2 separate regions of the Homo sapiens genome follow, and region 2 is linked to region 1. The links are contacts of gene promoters, found by promoter capture Hi-C in blood cells and fetal thymus (Javierre and others, 2016). All regions are on one chromosome and are shown on one strand. Each heading gives the region's core, a stretch centred on a gene start or on the middle of the fragment in contact. The rest is flanking DNA. Distances are from core to core; before and after follow the strand shown.

Region 1 (2,700 bases), core at 51-2,550:
AGATAGCAAGCTCCATGGGGCAGGAACCATGAAGGGCCTTGTACCTGAGCATACCCCCAGTGCCTGATGCAGGGCCTAGTGCACACTCAAATGTTGGTTGACTGGCCGGGTGCGATGGCTCATGCCTATAATCGTAGCACTTTGGGAGGCCAAGGCGGGCAGATCGCTTGAGGTCAGGAGTTCGAGACCAGCCTGGCCAACGTGACAAAACCCCCGTCTTTACTAAAAATACAAAAAAATTTAGCTGGGCCTGGTGGCACACACCTGTAATCCCAGTTACTCGGGAGGCTGAGGCACAAGAATTGCTTGAACCCGGGAAGCAGAGGCTGCAGTGAGCTGAGATTGCACCACTGCACTAGCGCCTGAGCCACAGAGTGAGACCCTGTCTAAAAAAAAAAAAAAGTTGGCAGACTGAATGCTGGAAAGAAGAAGGACCTGGCTTTGTCCCCACACCAATCTGGTGGGCGAGTACAGAATGTAAACTGTCTGGAGGTTGGCATTGGCCTAGCTTCTCCGTTGCTCTCTTGTTCTCTAGAATCCAATCAAGCACCTGTGGCCAGAGAGCTGTGTGAAATGGAAACCAGTCCCACCAGCCCCTGATTGCACCCCCGCAATGTCTTCTCGCCCTGTTTAATGTCATGTCCAAACTCCTGGCCGCCGTGGCCTGTCTCCACCTCTCCAGCTTCCTCGCTTGGCCTGTCTCCTTAGCTCTCTCTGTCTCACCCACACTGGCCTGCAACTCGCCAGAGTGCCCCAGGCTTTTCAGCTTTTGCACGGGCCCTTCCCTCTCCAGGCTCTCTCCCCTGGATCTTTGCTTCAGCTGCTCCTTCTTGACATCCAGGTCTCAGACCAATGGCCCCTTACTCAGAAGGCCTAGCGCAGGCCGCCTAATTTCACACAGTTCTCCCCCTTCCCGCACTGCCTTCCATCACCTCGTTTCATTTTCTTCGTGGCACGGAGCACCATCTCCAATGGCCTTGTTCATTTAGTTAATTTATTTTCCGACTTAGTTCCAGGTGCTAAAACAGTGTTACCTTGGCAGGCTTCCCATCAAATATTGTTGCGCAAAGGATGGATGGATGAAAGGAAGAGTGAGCCAATAAACGAGGGAACGCCGGGAAAGGCAGCCTCAAGCCGGTGGGCCCTGCCACCCCCACCGTCCCTGAGCATCCGAGCCGGTTCCCGCCCCCGGCCCGAACTGGCCCGCGCGCGCTCGCAGCCCCGCGGCGGAACCCGAGGGCGGCGGCAGCGGTTTCCCTTGAACGAGCCGGGGAATCTGGAGGGAGCACACAGGAAAGGCAGAGCCGCGAGCTGGACCAGCCGTGGTGAGTGCAGCGGCGCCCAGGCGGGGAGCGCAGTGCGGGTCGCTGGGACTGAGCGCGCGAGCGGGGTGGGAGTCGGGATGGGGGCCCGGGGCGCTGGGCGGAGCCTCTGGAGTCGCGCTGGGCCGAGAGCCGCGGGGACCCAAGCATCAGGGGTCGTGGGTGCAGGCGGCGGCGCGGCTTGAGGGTAGGGGGTGCGGGCCTGGCCGGCGCGGCAGGGGAGGGCCTCGCGCGGATCCCGTGGTCACGGCGGGAGTCAGCTGTCCTGGGTTCGAGTCCCAGAGCTGTCGCTAACTTGTGGACCCCCCTCACTTCGTCCCTTGGGCTTCAGCATAGCCCTTTGCAAAATGGGGCCAATAGTATCAGATCCATTGATGGGTTGGTTGGTTCATTCATTCTGGCGCTTTACTAGGTTCTGGTGCTGCAGATGGATAGACGAACTTGCCCATGAGGGGTTCACTATCTAGTAAGAAAAACATTTCCACCTGGATACTCCACAGGCGTGTCAAATTCAGTATCTCCTAAACCGCACTACTTTTCTCCACAAACCTACCACTCAAATCTAAATGACTGAAATCACTATTCAACCAGTCACCCAAGCACAAAAACCTGGCTTGGTTCCTCCTCTCTCACTTACTACAGTCAATGGACCACCAACTGCTGCCAATTTCTACTTTCTAAAGCTTTCCAAATCCATCCTTTATCTTGGTTTGTTCTTTTAGGAGCCTACAGATTATGGCAATAACTTCCTAATGGTTCTCTTTAGCTTTAATTTTAGCTTCTTCCAGTTCATTTTTCATTCTGCTATAAAGTGGTCTTTTAACAGTTCAAATATGATTATATCACTCACCTGCTTAAAGCCCATTAAAGGTTTTTCATTGTCTTCAAAATAATAGCCAAAGTCCTTAGTGTGGGTTCAAGGTCTTTTCTAATCCCACCTGGTCTTCAATCCTTTATCTCTAAACCACTGTTTCTCAAAGTCTGGTATAGTGGTGACCTCCATTGCAACCAACATGGGAGTACTTGTTAACAAGTGAAGATGACAGCTTAATTCCAGAACAAATGAGACTCTTGCGGGAAGGGGCAGTTCCCAGGATTCTGTGTTTTTAACAAGTTCTGCACTAAAGGTTGAGAACCCCTGTTCTAGACACTCCAATTTTTACTCCGCTGTTGATGAGATTCAGGACACACTGCCGCAAAATATGACTCGTTGGCATTAGAGGAAACAACTGAAGCAGGAAAGTCACTTTGTGTCTTCCCACTTTTCTCCCCTGAAGCAGGCCATAAAAGAATTGTTTGACCTTCTTCTGTATAAGACCCTTCAGTGAGAGGTGCTCATCCTGTAAGTATAGGATCGAGGAAAGGAATGCCCTTATCT
Region 2 (2,700 bases), core at 167-2,666, 470 kb before region 1:
TTTGCATAGTCTGTTAGTGTCAGAGAAAATAGGTTACAACTACAGGATGATGAGAGCAGCAACAGAAACAGATGCAGAGGAACACAGAGAAAGTGATGGTGGATTGTGTCGGCAGTAGCGGGAGGTAGGCAGGAGGAGGTTAGGGAAAGTTGTCCTGAGGAAATGAAATCTGAACAAGATGTTTGATAAGGTTTGGAGGTGGATGTGGAGGAAGGATATTTCAGGCAATGGGCCAGCATATGCACAGCCATAGAGGTGTGGAACAGCAGTTTGGCCTTGTGAGTGTTGATTTCTGGGGCAAGGAGAAGGAGCAGACCAGGAGCTGGAGAGCAGCCATGGACCAAGTCAGGGAGCTCGTATATCAAATCCCCTACAGCTATGCTGCCCAGTTGGGGAGCCACAACCCACATGTGGCTGTTCAAGTTAACAATAACCAAAGTTAAATAAAATAGGCTGGGCACAGTGGTTCACGCCTGTAATCCCAGCACTTTGGGAGGCCGAGGCAGGTGAATCACTTGAGTTCAGGAGTTCGAGACCAGCCTCGCCAACATGGTGAAAACCCATCTCTAGTAAAAATACAAAAATTAGCTGGGCATGGTGGTGTGTGTCTGTAATGCCAGCTACTCAGGAGGCTGAGGCAGGAGAATCGCTTGAACCTAGGAGGTAGAGGTTGCGGTGATCTGGTATCATGCCGTTGCACTCCAGCCTGGGTGACAGAGCGAGACTCTGTCTCAAAAAACAAACAAACAAAAATTATTTCCGTAGTTGTATTGGCCACATTTCAAATGTTCAGTAGCCGTATGTGCCTACTGGCTATTGTATGGGACAGTGCAGATTACAGTGAACATTCCCACCATCGGAGAAAATTCTGTTGGACAGCGCCACGCAGAGCCTATAGCCTCTAAAAGAACCAAGCACATAACTTTGTTTCAGATGAGTATAATTCCATGATAACTTGGGTTTAAATTTAAGTATATCATTCTACACTTTAAGAAACTGCTACTTGAATATATTGGGCAGAAGGCTTTAGTTCATGGTCAATTATAGTAAATTTATATTTTAATTTTCTATCATCAACTCACAGAATTCTCACAAGCTTCTCCCTTCTTCCCTCCTGCCCTCTCCATCTCCATTAAACATCACTTGCAAAGTTGGTGGGGTGGGAAAGAGATTAATGATAATTATAGCCAATCTTGATGACAGGTCTCTCCTAAAAGTTTTATATGTATTAGCTAATTTATTGTTCATAATAACCCTAGGAAGTATAAGTATTATTTTAAATTCTCATCCTAAATTTGAGGGAACTGAGGCACAGAAAGGTCAGATAACTTGTGAATTCTCACAGTTAGTTAGGAAACAAAGGTGTCAGAATTTGAATTCTGGCTCTGGATGTGGGAACTCACCCACCACACTCTACCATCATCTTAGAATCTATCGGGGCAGGAGTGAGGTGGAGAAGAAACTGGGATATTGATTCCACAAATTGAGAATAAAAAGGAAATAATACTCTTGGAATCTCAATTCTAAATTGAAGTAATGAGAGTGGCTCACACACCCTGTTTTGAAGCTCACTGACCAAAGTGCATACACATTTTGTCATATAACTTTTGCTTATTTACTTCGCTTGCTGTGGTAGATGCTGAAATTATAGACATGAAGGACACATTCATTCATTCAACAAGTATTTATTGAGGGCCTTTGGGCTGTGCATCAGGTACAGTGTTGGACCAAATGGAGAAGCTTACATTCCAGAGGGGAGAGACGGACAATAAATAAATACTCCACGGCTGGGCACGGTGGCGCACGCCTGTAATCCCAGAATTTTGGGAGGCTGAGGAGGGCGGATTACGAGGTCAAGAGATTGAGACCATCCTGGCCAACATGGTTGAAACCCTGTGTCTACAGAAAATACAAAAATTAGCTGGGTGTGGTGGCGCATGCCTGTAATCCCAGCTACTCGAGAGGCTGAGGCAGGAGAATGGCTTGAATCCAGGAAGCGGAGGTTGCAGTGAGCCGAGATCGTGCTACTGCACCCCAGCCTGGGTGATAGAGCGAGACTCCATCTGAAGAAAAATAGTCATAGAGTAAAAATAATATCTAATATATGAATCGTGTAATATAGCACAGGGTAATGGGCACCATGAAGGTCTGCCCTTACGAAGCGCAAAGGGGAAGAATGACAAGTAAGGCAAAAATGAAATGCAGTCATGTGCCCTGTAACATTTTGGTTAAAGACAGACTGCAGTGGTCTCATAAGGTTATCATGGAGCTGAAAAATTCTTATGGCCTAGTGACATCATAGATGTCACAGTGCAGCAACCCATTACTCCTGTGTTTGGGTTGAGGCTGGTGTAAACAAAGCTACTGCACTGCCGGCGGTATAGAAGTCTAGCACAAACAATTATGTACAGTATGTAATACTTGATAATAAAATGACTGTTACTGGTTTATATATTTACTATGCTATACTTCTAATCATTGTTTTAGAGTGTACTCCTTCTGCTTATAAAAAAAAGTTAACTGTAAAACAGCCCCAGGTGGGTCCTTCAGGAGGTATTCCAGAAGAAGGCATTGTTATCAGGAGGTGACAGCTCCATGTGCACCATTGCCCCTGAAGACTTTCCAGTGGGCTAAAATGTGGAGGTGGAAGACAGCGAGATTGATGATCCCAACCCTCTGCAGGCTTAGGCTAATGTGTGT

Evidence for each region. The method cuts DNA at HindIII sites, captures the fragments that hold promoters and counts their contacts. A CHiCAGO score of 5 or more calls a contact.
Region 2: a fragment that was not itself captured here is called in contact with the fragment with the promoter of AGK in region 1 in 1 of 17 cell types (endothelial precursors); the score reaches 6.5 in endothelial precursors.

The regions. Positions count from the first base shown.
Region 1 is chr7:141,550,110-141,552,809 of GRCh38, forward strand. It overlaps AGK (acylglycerol kinase), which reads left to right and starts at 1,301. Exons shown (of 16, transcript NM_018238.4): 1 at 1,301-1,325. AGK-DT (AGK divergent transcript) reads right to left here and starts at 1,235. Exons shown (of 6, transcript NR_183408.1): 1 at 1,035-1,235. RefSeq lists silencers at 1,096-1,185, 1,366-1,545. The HindIII fragment of the contact is 2,342 bases long and covers 1-2,003 here.
Region 2 is chr7:141,078,554-141,081,253 of GRCh38, forward strand. The region is part of intron 1 of TMEM178B (transmembrane protein 178B); the gene reads left to right. Among named protein-coding and RNA genes, the nearest start is that of TMEM178B, 5.8 kb to the left of the region's middle. The HindIII fragment of the contact is 644 bases long and covers 1,095-1,738 here.